3 separate regions of the Homo sapiens genome follow, and all the other regions are linked to region 2. Evidence: promoter capture Hi-C in 16 types of primary human blood cells and fetal thymus (Javierre and others, 2016). All regions are on one chromosome and are shown on one strand. Each heading gives the region's core, a stretch centred on a gene start or on the middle of the fragment in contact. The rest is flanking DNA. Distances are from core to core; before and after follow the strand shown.

Region 1 (4,006 bases), core at 673-3,172, 280 kb before region 2:
TATTTCCATGCTCAACGCCTGATACCGACAACCTAATTATTTCCCATTTTGCCTCGAAAGGTGGCTTCTGGGGATAGGCAGGGCCTGAGCTGGGAACAGCCCAACTGGAAAGACAGCCTTCCCTGCCTTCCCCACAGTGCCTAACCTCTAATAACAAACCAGCTCAAGGTGTGCTAATCACGTCAACATCAGGACATGAGACCCTCTTCCTTCATCCCCCTCAAAGACTGTGTTGTTTGTACAACACAAAAGGCATTTGAAAAAATTTAGCATAAAACTGACACACAATATTCGATATTATTTTTGTTCTATATGTAGATGTTCCTACACAGGAGTCAGTATCCCCAAGGCTAACTGCCTCTAGGTCAGCAATGTCCAATAGAACGTTCTTTAATGGTGGAAGTGGAAATGAAAGTTCTACTATCTGTACTGTCCAATATAGTAACCATATACCTACTGAGCACTTGAAATGTGGCCAATGTGAATAAATTGAATAATTCTAATAAATTTAAATTGCTACATGTGCCTTGGAGCTACTGTTTCTAACAGTGCAACTCTAGGTGTACTAGCTAGATGTGTTTTCATAACCTGCAATATTGAGAATCAGATACAGGGATGTGATGACCCCAGGTGACCACCCTTATAGCCTTGTGTTAAGGAGACTACCACTATCCTCTTTGCTCCCTAATCTACATATCTCTTTCGTAAAATTAAAGTGCCAAATAAGATTAAGAATGTTAAACATCCCAGGACTTAAGGGACAGGAAAAAGAGGAATTTTTTTCTTATTTTAAAACAAATGACAAGAAAACAGGGGCTGGCCGCGGTGGCTCACTCCTGTAATTCCAGCACTTTGGGAGGCCGAGGCAGGCAGATCACTTGAGGTCAGTTCAAGGCTATCCTGGCCAACATGGTGAAACCCCATCTCTACTAAAAATACAAAAATTAGCCAGGCGTGGTGGCACACACCCATAATCCCAGCTACTCGGGAGGCTGAGGCAGGAGAATCACTTGAGCCCGGGAGGTGGAGGGTGCAGTGAGCAGAGATTGCCCCACAGCACTCCAGCCTGGGCGACAGAGTGAGACTTGGTCTAAAAAAAAAAAAAACCAGAAAGAAAAAGAAAACAGTACAAAAGCTTAAAATAAAAATGTTCTAAAGTAGACTCTAATACTCATAGAAATTTAATATATAATAAAGGTAACATCACAAATCAGCAGAGAGAAACATAACTGCCCAAATAGTGTTGGCAAAATTAACTGCTTGGGGAAAAAGAGTTGTTCTCAGCACCAGGAAGAGCTTCCAAAGCATTTTAAAAACAGACATCACACATACACACACAAAATACCTCTGGGCATCAAAAATCGCCACAAAAGGTGCCTATAATCCCAGCTACTTGGGAGGCTTTGGCAGGGAGAACTGTTTGAACCTAGGAGGCAGAGGTTGCAGTAAGACCACACCACTGCACTCCAGCCTGGACCACAGAGCAAGACTCTGTCTCAAAAAAAAAAAATCACCACAAACAAGGCTGGGGGTAAAATTATTTGCAACAAATGAGAAACAAGATATTAATATTCTGAATATGTTTTTAAAAACTCTGGCCAGGCACAATGGCTCATGCCTATAATACCAGCACTTTGGGAGGTTGAGGTAGGAGGATTGTTTGAGCCCAACTGTTTAAGAGACCAGCCCTGGCAACATAGCAAGACCAGTCTCTACAAAAAAAAATTTAAATTAACCAGGCATGGTGGTGTGCACCTGCAGTCCCAGCTACTCAAGAGGCTGAGGTGGGAGGATCTCTTGAGCCCAGAAGTTAAGGCTGTAGTGAGCCATGATCACACCACTGCACTCTAGCCTAGGTGACAAAGCAAGAACTTGTCCAATTTAAAAAAAAAAATTAACTCATAAATTAGTAAGAAAAAAAATTTTTAAATAGTCTAAGGATGTAAAAAGATGAGAAACATAAAATACACTAACTTCACTAATATCAAAGTATGGTAAAACAATGACATATCACATTTCACCTATAAAATGGTAAAAATAAAAGATATAATTACACCAGTACAGGTAAGGGTACTGACACTTTCATGTATTGCTTGAAAGAAGGAGCAAACCAGCAATACATATCAGTATTCTCTAAAAGCAGTATCCTTTGATCCAGTAATTCCACTGTCGGATGTCAATCTCCTAAGGAAATGGCCAGGGATGTGAACAAAGATTGACAAGAATCTTCATCAACAGCATTTATCTAATTTTTAAAAAAATTAGAAATGACAGTCCAGGCCAGGCTTAGTGGTTCACGCCTGTAATCCCAACACTTTGGGAGGCCAAGGCGGGTGGATCATGAGGTCAGGAGTTCGCAACCAGCCTGGCCAATATGATGAAACCCCCGCACTACTAAAAATACAAAAATTGGCTGGGCGCGGTGGCGGGTGCCTGTAATCCCACCCAGCTGCTCGGGAGGCTGAGCCAGAACCACTTGAACCCGGGAGGTGGAGGTTGCAGTGAGCCGAGATGGAGCCACTGCACTCCAGCCTGGATGACAGAGCAAGGCTCCATCTCAAAAAAAAAAAGACAGTCTAACCAGAGGATTAGTAAAATATATTATGGCTCATTTTTACAATGTAATGTTACGAATTCATTAAATGTTTTTAAGGCTATTTAATGACACAGAAAAACAATACTAAGTGAAACGTAACAATAAGCTACACTGAAAGCTTCTCCCAGTGACAGGATGCTTTTTTTTACCACACTATTCTATTTCCTCCATATTTTCCAGAACAAATGCATACCACGTATCTTTTATAATGAGAATAAACCAACAAAACTGTACTTTCTCCTTTTTTTTTTTCCTTGAGAAGGAGTTTCGCTCTTCTTACCCAGGATGGAGTAGCAATGGCATGATCTCGGCTCACTGCAACCTCCGTCTCCCAGGTTCAAGCAATTCTCCTGCCTCAGCCTCCCAAGCAGCTGGGATTACAGGCACCCACCACCACACCTGGCTAATTTTTGTATTTTTAGTAGAGACGGGGTTTCACCATGTTGGCCAGGCTAGTCTCAAACTCCTGACCTCAGGTGATCCGCCTGCCTCAGCCTTCCCAAAGTGCTGGGATTACAGGCGTTGAGTCACCATGCCTGGCCACTTTCTCCTTCATTTTAACTGGCTCTTAGGTCGAGATTAGAGATACTCATGCTTGACCTGGGATAATTTTAAAAAAACCCAGTCGTATGCTATCCATGTATTTTGGGAAACATTTAGGACCTGTGGAAGATCGGGCCTCAACATTAAATCAGCAATTCTCTTTACTGGAATCAGATTAGCACATCAAACTGAGCAGTGTCATGCACCTATAATCCCAGCTACTCAGGAGTCTGAGGTGAGAAGGTCACTTGAGTCCAGGAGTTCAAGACCAGCCAGGGCAACAGAGCAAGACCCAGTCTCAATCATAAAAATTTTTTAATTTTTAAAAAGATTTAACAAGTTAACATAAAATTAAAGTGTGTCTCAAAACCAGACAGCCATCTTGTCTGCCATCACTGAGCAAATTACAGATGGACTCAATACAAATTTGCCCACGGGGCTTGCTTGCAATACTATTTCACAAAGCTGACTGTATTCTTCATCTTCATAAATGGCCAGTCTGATGCATAGCATGTTTAGCTACAAATGCCTCTGCTGACTCTCCCTGCAACATTTTCATCGCTCGCCAGTAGATCTGTCCACAGTTCTCAGGTCTACCAAGGGGGTGGTTCAATTCTTCTTTCATATAATCCATCCAAAGATCTTTTAAAAAAAAAACATACAATTAGATAACTGACAGAGTGTTATTAGGTAACCTTATTAAATATCAATTCAACTCAAGATTTCTAAGAAACTTAACTTCTCATTGTTACTTCCCTAGGACGCTTTGTTTAACAATACCTCTCTTAGCTTCTTTAAAGTATAGTGGCAGGTTTTGGTTTGTTTTTGTGTGTTTTTTTCTTTTTTGAGACAGGGTCTCACTGTGTT
Region 2 (3,620 bases), core at 179-2,678:
CCAGCTACTCGGGAGGCTGAGGCAGGAGAATGGCGTGAACCCAGGAGGCGGAGCTTGCAGTGAGCCGAGATTGCGCCACTGCACTCCAGCCTGGGCGACAGAGCGAGACTCCGTCTCAAAACAAAACCAAAACAAAACAAAAAATCTGTGGATTACAACTTTTTAGTGACTTTTTAATATAATAATGATAGCTGAGATCAGTAGAGCACACGCTCTGAGTCTGGCACTGTACCAAATGCTTGACAAGTATTATAGTATTTATTACTCACAACCATCTCAAGAGGAAGGTATTATCATCATTATTTCCATGCTACAGAAGAAGGAACAGTGGCTGAGGGAAGTAAAAATAAAAGCACTTAGTCGAGATCACAGAGCTATTATGTGGAGCCTAGATTCAAACCCAGGAAATTTGCCAGCAACTCTTAACTGCTGCAAGAGACCACATGACTTCTCCTAGGAGAAAGGGAAGTTGGTATTACGCACATTTCATTCCCTTTAAGTGTTTATTGTGTAATATTTAAGATAGAAAAAATGTACATTATGCACAGATAGTGCTTCCTCATTAATTTATGTATTTTATATTTCCCACTGTGTGCCAAGTATTAGGGATGTGATATATATTCGCACGCGTATGTATATATATATATTTGCCATTGTGTACCAAACATTAAGCATGTAACAACAAATTCCTCCAGATGGAGAGGGTCACGAGAAAATTAAGGCAATGTTAGAAAAATCATCTAGAGTTTATTATCGAGTGCCACCTCCGTGTCTAGCATTACGCTGGGTAAGCCTGAGTAAAGAAGAGTGTCCGAAAACCCTGCCATAAAATAAACTACATAGACAGAAAAAAAGTCACTTAGTTTGGTTATAAAGAAAGGAGTCTTGTTCACACAGCGTAAAAACGAATCTTATAATCGTATTTTATAAGCATCAGAGGCAAAAGCAACTAGGGTGACGGGCTTTGGGGAGTGGAAAGCGCCGGATCCTGGGAGCCAGTCGCCCTACTCGATCAAGCATTTTCTGACGGCCCTATCCAATAACGTGGGGACGCAGCTGAAAACCATGCAAGCTGATCGCTGCCCTCCCGGAGTTTATGGTCTGGTGAGAAGATCCCTGCTCTGAGTCACTGCCAAGCTCTAGCTATGTGACTTTGAACAGGGAATTTCTGTCCCTATCTATAAAATAAACGGGGTTAAACCAGGGAATCCGCCATTCAAATTCCTGGCCCAAGTGTCTCCGGGGTCGCGGTGCCCAAAGGAGGGTGGGCGAGGCTCCCTGGGCCTGCGCTGCGGCGGCCTGACAGCGGGAGCGCTGTTCCGGCGCAGAGCGCGTTCGCGTTCCGAAAGCGCGTGTCCCTCGCCGCGTGCCGTCGTCCCCGCCGCCGCCGCCGCCGCCGCCGCCGCCGCCGCCGCCGCCGCCGCCGCCACAGCCCGCTGGGCCGGAGGAGGCGGAGCTGGCGCTGTCCCGGCTCTCTTGCGGGGAAGCAACTGAGGGGGCGGCGCGGCGGGCCCCGGCGGCCGAAGAGGCTGGCAGGTGGCGCCGTGGGGTGGGTGCTCCTGGTGAGAGGAGTCCACTCCGTGCGTGCGGGCGGAGGCCGGCCCCCGAGAGCCGCCGACATGAAGAAAGACGTGCGGATCCTGCTGGTGGGAGAACGTGAGTCCGCACCCTCTGGCCGGCCCCTGAGTCCCTGCCCTCCCTGCCCCTGCAGCCCCTGTCGCCCCTGTCGCCCCTGCAGCCCCAACCTTTGCAGCCCCGGCCCTTCTCGCGCCTCACAGCTCCGCTCGCCTTTCTCCGCGTTCCTAGGCCTTCCAGCCCCTTCACTCTTCTCTTTTGGCTGGCCGCCGGCGGCCCTCACCCTGTCACCTCACCTGGGCCCTCCAGAGATCTCCTTTCCCTGTTCCCCAGCCGTCCTCCCAAGCCATGTCCCTATTAGCCCTAACCGCCCGACCTCATCCCTCCGAAGCTTCTCTCCTCCTTTTCCTCTTCGAACCCTGTCCTTCTGGGCCTCACAGTTTCCCAGGCCGCCTCCTTTCAGACCTTCTTGTCTTCTGGAGATTCCCTTATCACTGCCAGGCAGGTGCTGGAATAAGCAGACTGACCAATAGGGATTGCGTGAACCGGCTCCCGGGGAAGCTGGGGGAGGGGTGCAGAACTATTCGACTTGTGGGCAAGGTCAGGTTTCTGCATTTTTTTGGCACTCGCAGTCTTCACTCTCTCTATGTATTGACATTAAGATATGAGTAGTGGAAAGGGCCGGATCCTTTTTAGCAGTACTTGTACTTTGCATTGGACTAACTCCTCGTACTCGAGATATTTCATCAAAAATTTTTACTCAACTTCGAGTTATGCAAGCGCTCAATGAATTAGAATTATCTGGGGAGGGTCCAATTGTTGTTACCCTAAAGCGTAATCTTTGCCCTCTTTTTAAGCATTATTTATTCCATAGTTACTTCGTAGTTAACTTATTAATAACCACAGGCACACAGACATTTGATATCTCCCCCCACCCAGAAATTTCATACATTTCACCTTTTGAAAATATAATAAAGGAGAGTTCCCTCTGTTCACTGACATGAGGACGCAACAGCGGGGACTTCTTGATTTCACTCTGCAAGTTATGTAACTCAGTTGCTAGGACTAAAATAAGAAAGTGGGCCAGGGATAACTGGATTGTTTGTTTTAAAGAGTTAATACATTCGTTAATAGTCTGCCATTGCTGTTTCGAAGCATTCTGTTTTAAACCATTATTTCATTCTTGGTAACCCCTCAGGGTCACCGTGATGGAATCCCAAGGAAGAAAGTTAACACGTTTTTACCCTCTTCTGTAGTGTTCTTTGAGTTCATTGAAATTTCATCCACCTGCTGTTTGGAGAAATCTTCCTTTAGAATTAGAATTTAGGAGTAAGCTTAGCCAGCCATAGTTTACTTTTTGATTTGCAGTTGTAAATTTTTATTTTTATTTATAACTATATCTTAATCTGTATTTTTCATGGACTTCCTTGACAAGGTTCAGGAAGGTGTTATTTAACATATAATTCATGCTTATGCTTTTGGAGCAAGGTAGGGAAAGTGAGTAGACGACTTGCTTAAAAAACTGATCCTTAAATATATGATGAAATAGTTTGTTGTTGTTGTTGTTTTGAGACAGAGTCTCGCTCTGTCACCGAGGCTGGAGTGCAGTGCCTGGGATTACAGGCACTGTGGCTCATGCCTGTAATCCCAGCACTTTGGGAGGCCAAGGCAGGCAGATCACTTGAGGTCAGGAGTTCGAGACGAGCCTGGCCAACATGGTGAAACCCCGTCTCTACTAAAAATACGAAAATTAGCCGGGTGTGGTGGCACACACCTGTAGTCCCAGCTACTCTGGAGGCTGAAGCAGGAGAATCACTTGAACCCTGGAGGAGGAGGTTGCAGTGAGCTGAGACATGCCAGCCTGGGCAGCAGAGCAAGACTCTGTCTGAAAAAAAACCTTTAATAATGCTCCCACACAGCTGGGTGAGGTGGCTTATACCTGTATTCCAAGCACTCTGGGAGGCTGAGGCAGGAGGATCACTTGAGGCCAAGGAGTTTGAGACCAACCTGGGCAATGTAGTGAGATCCTGTCTCTACAAAAAATT
Region 3 (4,007 bases), core at 344-2,843, 310 kb after region 2:
TCTTGGCTCACTGCAACCTCCGCCTCCTGGGTTCAAGCGATTCTCCTTCCTCAGCCTCCGGAATAGCTGGAATTACAGGCACGCGCCACCAAGCCTGGCTAATTTTTGTATTTTTAATAGAGACGAGGTTTCACTGTGTTGATCAGGCTGGTCTTGAACTCCTGACCTCATGGTCCACCCACCTCGGCCTCCGAAAGTGCTGGGATTCCAGGTGTGAGCCATTGTGCCCGGCCAGTGATTTTTTTCAATTAAAGATAACTAACTTATTAATTATTAGGCTCAGTCTATAGAGCTGAATAAAGATGTATGAAATTGTGAGGATGTGTTTACATGGGCCTTATATCTTACTTAAAACATCATTAAGTAGCTATAAAAAGAACCATCCATAATGGTTTTTGAGTGCTATGAACTTTTTTTTTTTTAATTATTATTATTTTTGAGACAGAGTTTTGCTCTTGTTGCCCAGGCTGGAGTGCAAATGGTGCGATCTCGGCTCACTGCAACCTCTGCCTCCCAGGTTCAAGCGATTCTACTATCTCAGCCTCCCGAGTAGCTGGGATTGCCAGCATGCGCCACTATGCCCGGCTAATTTTGTATTTTTTTTTTTAGTAGAGGCGAGGTTTCACCATGTTGGTCAGGCTGGTCTTGAACTCCTGACCTCAGGTGATCTACCTGCCTTGGCCTCCCAAAATGATGGGATTACAGGTGTGAGCCACTGCACCTGGCCAAGTGGTTACTCTTCTAAACACATACATGGTTTAACTTAATTGAATCCTCGAAACAACTTGAAGTAGGTTTTGTTACCATTTTACACATGAGGATACTGAGCACAGAAAAGTTAAATAACTTAACAAAGCTCATTCAACTAATAACTGGTAGACCTAGGATTTGAGCTCATGTAGTCTTACTTCAGAGCCCATATAGCCACATGACATCATGGTTATTGCTTTCCTATAACTGTCTACTTAAATGAATTATCATTGGTGGGTGGTGTCTTTTCATCTTAGGCTGACTTCCTTCCTATTTAACATACATAAGGATTCCACTTGTCTGTCAGTTAATTTGAGCTTGGGGGGTTCCAAAACAGTTTTGATAATTACTCCATGCAAAATATAATAAGGTAATTTTTCTGAATTATAAAGCCAACTGAAGTGATGTGAAAATTTTTTTTGTTGTTAGCCAGGCGTGATGGCTCATGCCTGTAATCCCAGCACTTTGGTAGGCTGAGGTAGGAGGATCCCTTGAGCCCAGGAATTTGAGACCAGCTCTGGCAACATAATGAGACCCTGTCTCTACAAAAAATAGAAAAATTAGCTGGGTGTGGTGTTATGTGCCTGTAGTCCCAGCTACTCTGGAGGCTGAGGTGGGAGGATTGCTTGAGCCGAGGAGGTTGAGGCTGTAGTGAGCTATGGTCACACTGCCGTGCTCTAGCCTGGGTGACAGAGCAAGACCCTGTCTCAAAAAAAGATTTTTTTGTTGTTGAAATATCCAAATTTCTACTTTCCTCCAGTGGCATGAATTAAGAACAGTGTGTGGTATATAGTCAATACTTAAGTAATTTTCATCCAAAAATGTTACTGTTTTGCTTGAAATTCCTATTTTATATGTATTCTCCCCTTATTTCTTGCCCTTCCTGCCTTGTGACCTGAGAAGTTTAGAAGTGTACTGCTAAAGCTATTGGAATTTAATAGATGAATTATAAGAACTTTCAAAAACATTTCCATGTTACTTATTGTTTTCTAAGAAAGTTTGATGAGTATAGGTATACACAATGGGAACTCTAAGGAAGTGTTGAGGCCTACATATATTTAGCTGTCTTTGCTATTAATGATATGTTTGTATTGTTTGCTCCTGAGAACAGAAAATATGTCTGTTCCATTAATGTTCAGTTTTTTTATGCATTTAATAAATGCATAGCATTGTGCTAAGTATTCTACTCAAAAATTTAAGATAGGATCCCTGGCCAACAAAAATCACTTGGGGATTACCAAATAAAACAATGTCTGATGTGTAATTGTGATTGCAAGTAGTGTTAGTAGTGTTGAGCATCATCAGACATGATGCCTTGGCTCAGGATTTCATAGCCTAAAACTTCTAAAAGGAATCTGTTGAGTTCTGTGAGGTCCTGCCTCAGGCTCCCAAGTGGCTGGAACTACAGGCGCCCACCACCACCCCCGGTTAATTTCTGTATTTTTAGTAGAGGCGGAGTTTCATCATGTTGTCCAGGCTGATCTTGGGCTCCTGACCTCAAATGATCCACCCACCTCAGCCTTTCAAAGTGTTGTGATTATAGGCATGAGCCACTGTGCCTGGCCTTTTTTTTTTTTGAGACCGAGTTTCATTCTGTTGCCCAGGCTGGAGTGCAGTGGTGTGATCTCGGCTCACTGCAACTTCTGCCTCCTGGGTTCAAGCAATTCTCGGGCCTCAGCCTCCCCAAGTAGCTGGGACTACAGGCGTGAGCCACCATGCTCGGCTAATTTTTTTTTTTTTTTTTTTCTTTTAGTAGAGACGAGGTTTCACCATGTTGGCCAGGCTGGTCTTGGACTCCTGACCTCAGGTGATCCACCCGCCTTGGCCTCCCAAAGTGCTGGGATTCCAGGTGTGAGCCACCGCGCCCAGCCAAGTTCTGTGAGGTTCTGACAAGGAAAATCTGGTCATATAATTACAGATAATCCCAGTAAGAATAGGAGGAAGTCAGTATGATTTTATGGGACTTAAAAAAAAATTAACTCAGTATGTATGAAAGTGGAAGGAAACAGGAAATACAAACAAGAATGAATATAAAACAGTAGTAGACTAAAACAGATGATGAACTGAGTCTGAAAAATGCAGGTGGGCACAGTGGCTCACACCTGTAATCCCAGGACTTTGGGAAGCTGAGGTGGGAGGATTGCTTGAAGCCAGGAGTTATGTGGACCAGTTTGGACCACACAGCAAAGACCCTATCTCTGTTAAAAAAAATTTTTTTTTTTTAAAGCAGCATGGGTAACATAAGGAGACCACATATCTACAAAAAAGATAAAAAAATTGACTGGGTGTGGTGGTGCGTGCCTGTGTCCCAGGTACTTGGGAAACAGAGGCAGGAGGATCACTTGAGCCTGGGAAGTCAAGGCTGCAGTGAGCCACAATTGTGCCATTGTACTACAGCCTGGGTGACTGAGTGAGGCTCTTTCTCAAAAAAAAAAAAAAAGAAAAAAGAAAAAGACATGTAGGGGGACAACTAAGAGATCATTTGCTTCTTTCGGCGTAAGAAGGATAACACTCAGTGCTTAGAGAAAATATTGTAAGGCTAGCAGGTGTTAGAAAGGCACACTGCTTAGCTCATATTTCACTTCTGCCTTTTCTAGGAAGGAAAATGATTTTCAAACTGCAAAAGATAGAAATAACAGCAGAAAGAGATAATTAATGGTAGGTGAGAGAAGACAGAGCAGATAGTCTCTGTAAATAAGTTCAGGTCTCTAGGCTCTAACAGTTTCTTTTATTATCAAAAAAATAGTTTTAGCAGATATAACTATAGAGCCATATATTATTCTGAGAAAAATCATGGAGAGGTATAAGGAAGATGAGGCAAATGTTATCCTGCCTTTCAAGAGGGTAATGCAAAGAATAGATGTATTCACTGTGTGCTGCACATTGAAATAAAGAAATTAAAAATAAAGAGTAGACACTATACATGGTCATCAGTGGTAGAGTTCTGGGACAGATTATTTGATAAGGAGATAGTAATCTCTTAAAAAAAAGTGGATTTATTGTGAACAGATTATTCCAAATTCACCTTAGTTCTCTCTGTTTTGTTTTGTTTTGTTTTTTTGAGACAGAGTCTCACTTTGTCACCCAAGCTGGAGTGCAGTGGCACAACCTTGGCTCACTGCAGCCTCGACCTCCTGGGCTCAAGCAGTGCTCTTGCCTCAGCCCGCCAAGTAACTGGGACTACAGGCCTTCACCACCATGCCTGGCTAATTTTTGTAGAGAGGGGGTTTCGCCATATTGCCCAGGCTGGTCTTAAA

Evidence for each region. Contacts are between HindIII fragments. The CHiCAGO score rates a contact against its expected background, and 5 or more counts as called.
Region 1: a fragment that was not itself captured here is called in contact with the fragment with the promoter of RHOT1 in region 2 in 1 of 17 cell types (fetal thymus); the score reaches 5.0 in fetal thymus.
Region 3: a fragment that was not itself captured here is called in contact with the fragment with the promoter of RHOT1 in region 2 in 1 of 17 cell types (erythroblasts); the score reaches 6.2 in erythroblasts.

What each region holds. Positions count from the first base shown.
Region 1 is chr17:31,859,736-31,863,741 of GRCh38, forward strand. UTP6 (UTP6 small subunit processome component) reads right to left here. Exons shown (of 19, transcript NM_018428.3): 19 at 1,169-3,781. The coding sequence ends at 3,624. Among named protein-coding and RNA genes, the nearest start is that of COPRS, 2.5 kb to the left of the region's middle. The HindIII fragment of the contact is 1,579 bases long and covers 1,134-2,712 here.
Region 2 is chr17:32,141,074-32,144,693 of GRCh38, forward strand. It overlaps RHOT1 (ras homolog family member T1), which reads left to right and starts at 1,429. Exons shown (of 20, transcript NM_001033566.3): 1 at 1,429-1,656. The coding sequence starts at 1,620. LOC105371730 (a long non-coding RNA gene) reads right to left here and starts at 2,062. Exons shown (of 2, transcript NR_136413.1): 1 at 1,952-2,062; 2 at 153-1,640. RefSeq lists an enhancer at 760-929 and silencers at 1,390-1,619, 1,650-1,709. The HindIII fragment of the contact is 3,152 bases long and covers 1-1,964 here.
Region 3 is chr17:32,447,946-32,451,952 of GRCh38, forward strand. All of the region lies in intron 2 of PSMD11 (proteasome 26S subunit, non-ATPase 11), which reads left to right. Among named protein-coding and RNA genes, the nearest start is that of PSMD11, 5.4 kb to the left of the region's middle. The HindIII fragment of the contact is 6,802 bases long and covers 1-4,007 here.